Regions from separate parts of the Homo sapiens genome. Here region 1 is linked to region 2. The links are contacts of gene promoters, found by promoter capture Hi-C in human tissues and cell types (Jung and others, 2019). All regions are on one chromosome and are shown on one strand. Each heading gives the region's core, a stretch centred on a gene start or on the middle of the fragment in contact. The rest is flanking DNA. Distances are from core to core; before and after follow the strand shown.

Region 1 (4,578 bases), core at 731-3,230, 230 kb after region 2:
AGCAATCTATAAAAACACATGACCAAATGGAATTTATTCCAAGGAGGTAAGGCTGATTCCATATTTGAAATCCGTCATCTACCATATTAATAGGCTGAAGAAAAACTGCATGATCATATCTTTCAATGCAAAAAATATTTGATAAAATTAAACACTCATTCTTGATAAAAACTCTCAGAAAAACAGGAACAGAGGGGAGCTTCTTCAACTTGAAAAAGAGCAGCAACAAAAGACCACTATCAAATGTTATACTTAGTTTTTTTTGGTTGTTTGCTGAGGCAGGGTCTCACTCTGTCACTCAGGTTGGAATGCAGAGGCATGAACATGGCTCACTGCAGCCTCAACCTCCTGGCTCAAGTGAATCTCCCACCTCAGCCTCCTGAGTGGCTGAGATCACAGGTGCATGCCACTATGCCTGGCTAATTTCTAAATTTTTGTAGAGATGGGGGTCTCACTATTTTTCCCAGGCTGTTCTTAAACTCCTGGGCTCAAGTAATCTTCCTGCCTTGGCCTCCCAAAATGCTGTGATTACAAGTGTGAACCAGCAAACCTGGCCTATACTTAGATTTGAGAGACTGAATCCTCTTTCCTAAGATCAGGAATAAGGCAAGGACATTTGCTCTTATCATTTTTTTTTTTTTTTTTGAGACAGAGTCTTACTCTGTTGCTCAGGGTGGAGTGCAGTGGCACAATCTTGGCTCACTGCAAGCTCCGCTTCCTGGGTTCAAGTGATTCTTGTGCCTCAGCCTCCCAAGTAGCTGGGATTACAGGTGTGCACTGCCACACTGGCTAATTTTTGTATTTTTATTAGAGATGGGGTTTCACCACGTTGGCCAGGCTGGTCTTGAACTCTTGGCCTCAAGTGATCCACCTGCCTTGGCCTCCCAAAGTGCTGGGATTACAGGTGTGAGCCAGCGTGCCCAGCCACTGTTATCACTCTTATTCAACATATTGCTGGAAGTTCTTGTCAAGGTGATAAAGCAAAAAACATATATAAAAGGTATACTGATTGGAAAGGAAGAAAAAAAAATGGTCCCTGTTTGCAGAGGACATGATTATCTATATAGAAAAATCGTGGCTGGGCACAGTGGCTCATGCCTGTAATCCTAGTACTTTAGGAGGCCGAGGCATGTGGATTGCTTGAGGTCAGGAGTTCAAGACCAGCCTGGCCAACATGGTGAAATCCCATCTCTACTAAAATACAAAAATTAGCTAGGCATGGTGGTGGGTACCTGTAATCCAAGCTACTAGGGAGGGTGAGGCAGGAAAATTGCTTGAGCCCAGGAGGTAGAGGTTTCAGTGAGCTGAGATGGTGCCACTGCACTCCAGCCTGGGCAACAGAGTGAGACTCCATCTCAAAGAAAAAAAAAAAAAAAAGAAGAAGAAGAAGAAGAAAGAAAAAGAAAAAACACAAAAAATCTACAACAAAACCCAACAAAACTCTCAGGACGAATAAGTGAGTTCAGCAAGGTCACAGGATACAAGATAATCATACAGAAATCAATTTACTTCTAACTAGCGATGAATATGCAGGCATATAAAATAAAAATACAATGCCATTTATAATTGTTCTTAAAAATTGAAAAGGTATAAATCTAAAAAAATCGCTGTGCAGGGCATGTATGCTAAAAGCTATACAAAGCTAATGAAAGAAATCAAAGGAGACTTAAATAAATGAAGAGACATACCATATTCATGGATTGGACAACTCGACTTGGTGCATCTCCCCAAACTGACGTACAGATTTAACACAATTCCCATCAAAATCCCACAAGAATGTCTGTAGATGTACGTAAGATTGTTCTAAAATGTATATGAAAAGGCAAAGGAAGCACAATAGCTAAAATAATTCTGAAAAATAAAATGGGAAGAATCAGTCTGCCAGATTTTAAGACTTATTATATAGCTACAACAATCAAGACTGTGTAGCACTGGCGAAGAGACAGACACAGAAAAGTGGAATAGATCAATTCTTGGCCGTTTGGCTAAGATCAAGTGAAGAACAATGGATTAGAACAGAAAACCCAGAAACAGACCCTCACAATATGCCCAACTGATTTTTCACAAACGTGTAAAAGCAATTCAATCAAGAAAACAGCTAGTTGTCATGGTTCGTGCCTGTAATCCCAGCACTTTGGGGGGCCAAGGTAGGTGGATCACTTGAGGCCAGGAGTTCGAGATTGGCCTGGCCAACATGGCAAAACCCTGTCTCTACTAAAAATTTTAATATAAAAAAGAAAAGAAAAGGCCTTTTCAAGAAATGGTGCCAAAGCAATCAAGCATCCATAGGGGAGTAAAGACCTTAATCTAAGTCTCACATCTTATACAAAAACTAACTCAGAATGAATCATGGACTTAAACGTAAAATGTAAAACTATAAAACGTTTAGAAAAAAAGGTGAAAATCTTTGGGATCTAAGGTACATTTCATGAGAAATCAACAAGCTCCTTGTATAGAATTCAGTAAAAACAAACACAAAATGTGTTGAATGCTTTGACAGATAAAGAGGCAAGGCCCAAAAATACTCCTTTGAAGTAACTTACAATATTTACAAAGTTTCAGGAAGTTAAGACATTAATATATATCCCTAAAACTAGAAGATTTTTTTGTAAGCACCATAAAAAAAGACATAATACGCTAGTAGACCACTGAAGCAGGGAATCAAACTTTCAGGGTTAAGAGAGAGAAACAGCATGAGAGAAAGCAAACATGCACGAGAGAGAAGGAGCAATGAACACAAACAATGAGGAAGGTAGGGTTTGATATGCGGTTTTGGAAAGGAAGAACAGGACCTTTTTTTTTTTTTTTTTTTTTTTTTTAAATACAACATACAGTATGACCAATGACCAAGGCCTGGGCATGGGAACAGATAAAATAGGTTCAGAGAATATGGCACAGTCTTCTCAATATGGAAAAGAGGGAGGAAAGGAAGAGTTTGGAGGTCCTGAAAAGCCTTGAATGCCACCCTAAGAAGTTTCATCTTTCCTTTATTTGTAACGGGGAGCCATTGAAGAGTATAGATCAGCAGAGAAATGTTAACCAATGCTGTGCTCTCATCTGGCAAAGTGCGGGAGACAAACCAGAAAAATAAAAAATAAGAGACAAGAAAACAATTAAGAAGCTGTTGCGATAGTCTGCAATGGTGAGAGAAGATGGCAATCTAAATTAGGGTAGTAATAACGGAGACAAAAGACAATGAAAGTCACTTTACTTAACAGTGGGGCTTAAAGAAGTATATGGATAGGGTCTACTGTCAAGAAAGTTGGAAAAAAGAATTTGTGTCTAGGATCAAGGGTATGCCACTCCCATCTCTGATGAAATAGAAGTGACTGTTTTCCTTCTGTCAGAAAACAAACCATTTCACAACCATCAAGACCACAAAGTGTGGGTACATATGACCTGGAAGTTGCATCACTCCTAGCTGTTGAACAGACAGTACATGTCACATGAACCTGTCTCTATCCTTTGGGTTAGATCTCAAGGTCTTCAAGCATGTAGAATGAGGCTATAACTTCCTCTTATTGCTCTTGGCGCCCAGAAAACCTAGGTGGGCCACAATTTAGCTGTGCAAGAGTGTTATGCTCCCTTCTGGTGACAATGAAGGCCCGTGAAAGTTTATCACACCAGGATTCTGCAAGATTCTGCCTGGAGTCATGATCATAGTGTTGTTCTAAGATATAAAGGGCCGCCAATATGTGGAAGAGCGATTTGATTTATTTTTAGTTACTCAACATACTCAAGTTGAACAAGTACCAGCAGGAGCAGTCTACGGAAAACCAAATTTTATTTTTTTTAGAACGTAAGAACTTTCTAAATGAGTGGTCCAAAGCAGGTCTCTTGGAAACTGGAGAATACTCAACACTGGAGATTTTGAAGAAAGAGGCAAGGTGAGGGATCAGCAAACTTTGTTAAGGATGTTAGCAAATATTTTGGGTTTTACAGGTCATATTTTCTCTGTCATAACTACTCAGTTCTATAGTGGCATGACAGCAACCATACACAATTCATAAGCAAACAGGCATGGCTGTGTTCCAATAAAACTGCTTAGAAAAAGAAGTGGTGGCAGGATTTGTTTGTTGACTCCTGGCCTAAACAAAGGGTGGGAAGGTTGGGGAGTGTGACAGAAGAAGGGCTCAAAGAGTAGATCAAGGCTGGGCGTGGTGGCTCACGTCTGTAATCCCAGCATTTTGAGAGGCCGAGGCAGGCAGATCACGAGGTCAGGAGATTGAGACCATCCTGGCTAATACGGTGAAACCGTCTCTACTAAAACGACAAAAAAAAAAAAAAAAAAAAAATTAGCCAGGCGTGGTGGCGAGCACCTGTAGTCCCAGCTACTCGGGAGGCTGAGGCAGAAGAATGGCTTGAACCTGGGAGGCAGAGCTTACGGTGAGCGGAGATCGCACCACTGCACTCCAGCCTGGGCAACAGAGCAAGACTCTGTCTCTGTCTCAAAAAAAAAAAAGAGTAGATCAATAGATGGACAAGAGACTACCTAAGGTCTATTCTCCCCTATCTTGAGAGACTTACTTTTTTCTTTTTCTTTTTTTTTTTTTTTTTTTTTTTTTTTTGCGACAGGGT
Region 2 (4,598 bases), core at 698-3,197:
GCATGAGCCACCATGCCGGGCTGGGAGGCGGAATTTTGTTCAGTCTAAAGATAAGCTTTTTCATAGCTCTGGCTGTAGTGGGAGGGAGCAGAGGAGTGAATGATTGTCAGTTGGGAGGGTGCAGAGTGGGCTCCTGCCCTAGGGTGGAGGTGAGGGTGGCTTAGGTGAGACAACACAGAGGCCCTGTTCAGCCCCACGTCCCCTCCCTGTGCTCCCTCCTCCTCTCTCCTCTCCTGCAGGCGTGGGAGGTATCATCATTCAGCAGATTTCACCAGAGGCAGTGGAGGAGGCAGGTACCTGAGCCAGAATTCAGAATGTCTTATTCTCCACTTGACTCTGCCACTAACTTGTTGTGCAACTTTGGGCCTTTCCCCAGGCCTTCATTTTCTTTTCTTTTCTTTTTCTTTTTTTTTTTTTGAGGCGGAGTCTCGCTATGTTGCCCAGGCTGGAGTGCAGTGGTGCAGCATCATCTCGGCTCACTGCAAGCTCCACCTTCTGAGTTCACGCCATTCTACTGCCTCAGCCTCCCGAGTAGCCGGGACTGCAGGCGCCCACCACCACGCCCGGCTTATTTTTTGTATTTTTAGTAGAGACAGGGTTTCACCACGTTAGCCAAGATGGTCTCGATCTCCTGACCTCGTGATCCACCCGCCTGGGCTTCCCAAAGTGCTGGGATTACAGGCGTGAGCCACTGCGCCCGGCCATTTTCTTAAATATCTAATAAAAAATATATAGCAAATGCAGTTTGTAAACTATGACAATATGACCACGCAAAAGATTATTATCTTCCAAGACTGCTGGTCCAAGGAAAGGTCAGTAATAAAGTGGAAGCATTGTAGCTTATGGAATGACTGGTTAGATTTGGGAGAAGCCTTAGCAATAATCTAGAATCTGCATAGATAATACATCTGAGGATTGGGCTTTGTGGTTTACAAAGCATTTTTTTTCCTCTTTTGATCCCAGCCGCTTGTCTGGACTGATACAAAGCATTTTTATTAGTTTGTCTTATTCAATCCTCACACCACCTCAAATTTACAGAGGATATGGATCTGGTTAACTTGTATGACTATGTAACCTCATGTCAGTCCACAGCACTGCCTGGAGGTGGGTAGAGGTGGTCCTGGGCTGGAATCCCAGCCCCAGTGGGACCTTGAGCAAGTTACTTTAGCTGTCTGCACCTAAATTTCCTCACTGGCAAAACAGGAATACTGGTGGTTCACACCTGCAATTCCAGCACTTTGGGAGGCTGAGGTGGGAGGATTGCTTGAGTCCAGAAGTTCAAAACCAGACTGGGCAACATAGCAAGACCATCTCTACAAAAATTAAATAAATAAAACATTTACAAGGGTTGTGGTGAAGATTAAATGAGATCACTCACGAAAAAGCTCAGCAGACCCTGATGTGCAGTAGGTGCTCAATAAATGTTAGCCAGCAAAAAACAAACAAAAAAAAACTCAGCTAGGAAATTGCAGTACTGGGCTTCTGACTCCAACCTCAGTGTTCCTTGCCCCACATCAAGCTGTTTCACTTCAAATCCTCTCCATTTCACAATGGAGTCACCCCAGGTTGAAGGAGTGAACTGTGCTTTGGAGGGCTGCCCTAAGCAGGCAGCAAAGAGACAGCTTGGTCTCCAGTGACCTGAAAGAATTATTTATTGCCCTGAAGTCCAGTATACCAGTTGCCAAAGGGAAAAGCTTCCTTCCAACTGGCTCAGCAAGCTGACAGAGGAAGAGTCGGGTTCTTGCTGGGGCAGTCATGCAGAGCTGGGATGACAAGTAGAAGGCTGGCAGATCTGTCTCTGGGCAGATGGATCACCTGATACAGATGCTGGGGCCTGAGCCCTGGGATTGGCCCAAAACAGGGCTGTGTTGACCCAACAGCTGGGCATTGGCATCCTGTCAATCTGCCGAGAGCCTAGAAATAGTGCGGGGGCAGTCTGCTGGTCTCATTGTGTCAGAGGAAGCAACCATGCAGGTGCTAACCAAGCGTTACCCCAAGAACTGCCTGCTGACCGTCATGGACCGGTATGCAGCCGAGGTGCACAACATGGAGCAGGTGGTGATGATCCCCAGCCTTCTGCGGGACGTGCAGCTGAGTGGGCCTGGGGGCCAGGCCCAGGCTGAGGCCCCTGATCTCTACACCTACTTCACCATGCTCAAGGCCATCTGTGTGGATGTGGACCATGGGCTGCTGCCGCGGGAGGAGTGGCAGGCCAAGGTGGCAGGCAGCGAAGAGAATGGAACCGCAGAGACAGAGGAAGTCGAGGACGAGAGTGCCTCAGGAGAGCTGGACCTGGAAGCCCAGTTCCACCTGCACTTCTCCAGCCTCCATCACATCCTCATGCACCTCACCGAGAAAGCCCAGGAGGTGACAAGGAAATACCAGGAAATGACGGGACAAGTTTGGTAGACCTTGGACACTAGGGAAGGTAATGGTGGCCATGCTGGTGGGTGTGAGTCTACAAAGGGACATTCCAGGAGAGGAGAGGGGGCAGTGGTGCAACCCACTGGGAGAGGAACAGCCTGACTTTCAGACAGAGCCACTCTTGGGTCAGGGTATTGGGACCACAACCTAGGAGGGCCTAAGACTAGGCCTGTGTTACTATCCTTCTGACCTCAAATTGGCAATTGCAATGAAGTGATATGGAAACAGAGGGAAAAGTGGCCTGTGAGGGCATATCTCATATGCACATATATGTGTTTGTGCATGTGTGCATTTATTAGTATGTGAATGCTTGTAAATGTGTGAATTGAATGAGTGTGTTCTCATCAGTGACTTTGTTAAGAATTTAATTGAAGAGGGGCCAGGCGCGGTGGCTCACACCAAAGCACTTTGGGAGGCCGAGGCGGGCGGATCATGAGGCCAGGAGATTGAGACCATCCTGGCTAACATGGTGAAACCCAATCTCTACTAAAAATACAAAAAATTAGCTGGGCGTGGTGGTGGGTGCCTGTAGTCCCAGCTACTCGGGAGGCTGAGGCAGGAGAATGGCATGAACCTGGGAGGCAGAGGTTGCAGTGAGCTGAGATTGTGCCACTGCACTCCAGCCTAGGTGACAGAGGGAGACTCCATCTCAAAAAAAAAAAAAAAACTTACCTAAGGCATGCACATTGATTTAAGTGAACATTGTGAATTCCATTTGTGTGACAGTGTTTCCCAACATTTTTTCAAGTCACAGAACATGGAAAATTATTATATGGCACATGGGGATACATAGGTGAGGCTGCTTGCAGTACTGCTACAACAGGCTGGGGGTACTCTGACCATCCCAGGTTGGAACCCACCAAACGGGAAGCCGAGGGACCAGTCATGGCACTCTAATCCATTCCAGGCAAACTGGAGTATGCAGACATGCCTGTTGGGAAGCCCTGTTGTATGTACATATGAATATGTGTTCCAGTCTAAGCCTACATGTCTATGCACAGAGGGGCTGGGGTGGTGAGTGTGGATGAGCAGCAAGCTAGACAAGCAGGTGGTGGCAGAGGGTAGGAGGTGGGAAGGGGCCCTAGCATGGTCACCACTAGTTCACTCATGGATAAAGACTAGTATTAATAGAAATTGGACCACAGCACCTGCCAGTTTTGATTCTGTGCCACCTGCCAGCCCTGCTCCCACAAACTGGTCTCATTAGTTGTAAACAACATCCACGTCCATTGCAATCTCAAAACCACCTGATGCAGCTATGTAGGAAAAGATTCTCATCCCCAGTTTACTAGTATGGAAATTGAAGCCAGAGAGGTGAAGTGACTCACCCAAAGTCACACAGTAAGGAGACAAAAGTAAGACTGGCCTCAACTTTGAGCTGAGTGTTCTTTCCATCGTACCCACTGTCTGCCATTTTGTGTTATCTTCATAATCTGTGTGAAGGCTGCTCTGTAATTATGCGGAATAAACATGGGACCCCCAAACACAGAGCCTATGGAGAGCTCTGCTCCAGGCATTTTCTCAGCCATTTTTCCTTCTCCCGCTTCAAACCCAAACTGTCAACCTCAACCCTTCTTCCCTCTCCCGTTGAGGCTCCCTGAGTTGCCTCACAGAGGTTCTTCTTGAATTAGATGGGGCTGTGTCAACAGCTCTGGGTTCACGTTCTGATTCTATCACTAATGAGCTGTGGGGCCTTGGGCAAGCTAATTCATTTCTCTGGGTTTCAGCTTCTTCACTGAATAATAACAGTGGTTGTAAAACTAACAACTGGCATTTGAATAGTTTTAAGATCACTTTGCATATCCATTATCTAATGGAATTATCATCCCCCCCCACCTTTTTAAATTTTGAGACGGAGTCTCACCCTGTCCCCCAGGTTGGAGTGCAATGTGCAATCTCAGCTCACTGCCACCTCCACCTCCCAGGTTCAAGAGATTTTCCTCAGCTTCCAAAGTAGCTGGGATTACAGGCGTGTGCCACCACACCCAGCTAATTTTTTTAAAATCTTTAGTAGAGACCGGGTTTCACCATGTTGGCCAGGCTGGTCTTGAACTCCTGACCTCGTGATCCACCTGCCTCGGCCTCCCGAAGTGCTGGGATTACAGGCATGAGCCACCGCGCCCAGCCTATCATTCCCTTTTGCAGATGAGAAAACTGGAGGCCTGAGAAGTAAA

Evidence for each region. Contacts are between HindIII fragments. The study calls those that stand out against the background at their distance.
Region 1: a fragment that was not itself captured here is called in contact with the fragment with the promoter of THRSP in region 2 in 2 of the 25 tissues and cell types used here (dorsolateral prefrontal cortex and mesenchymal stem cells).

What each region holds. Positions count from the first base shown.
Region 1 is chr11:78,287,022-78,291,599 of GRCh38, forward strand. The region is part of intron 1 of GAB2 (GRB2 associated binding protein 2); the gene reads right to left. Among named protein-coding and RNA genes, the nearest start is that of USP35, 100 kb to the left of the region's middle. RefSeq lists an enhancer at 3,242-3,536. The HindIII fragment of the contact is 5,361 bases long and covers 1-4,578 here.
Region 2 is chr11:78,061,914-78,066,511 of GRCh38, forward strand. It overlaps THRSP (thyroid hormone responsive), which reads left to right and starts at 1,948. Exons shown (of 2, transcript NM_003251.4): 1 at 1,948-2,428. The coding sequence starts at 1,969. The coding sequence ends at 2,409. The region is part of intron 1 of NDUFC2-KCTD14 (NDUFC2-KCTD14 readthrough); the gene reads right to left. The HindIII fragment of the contact is 6,211 bases long and covers 875-4,598 here.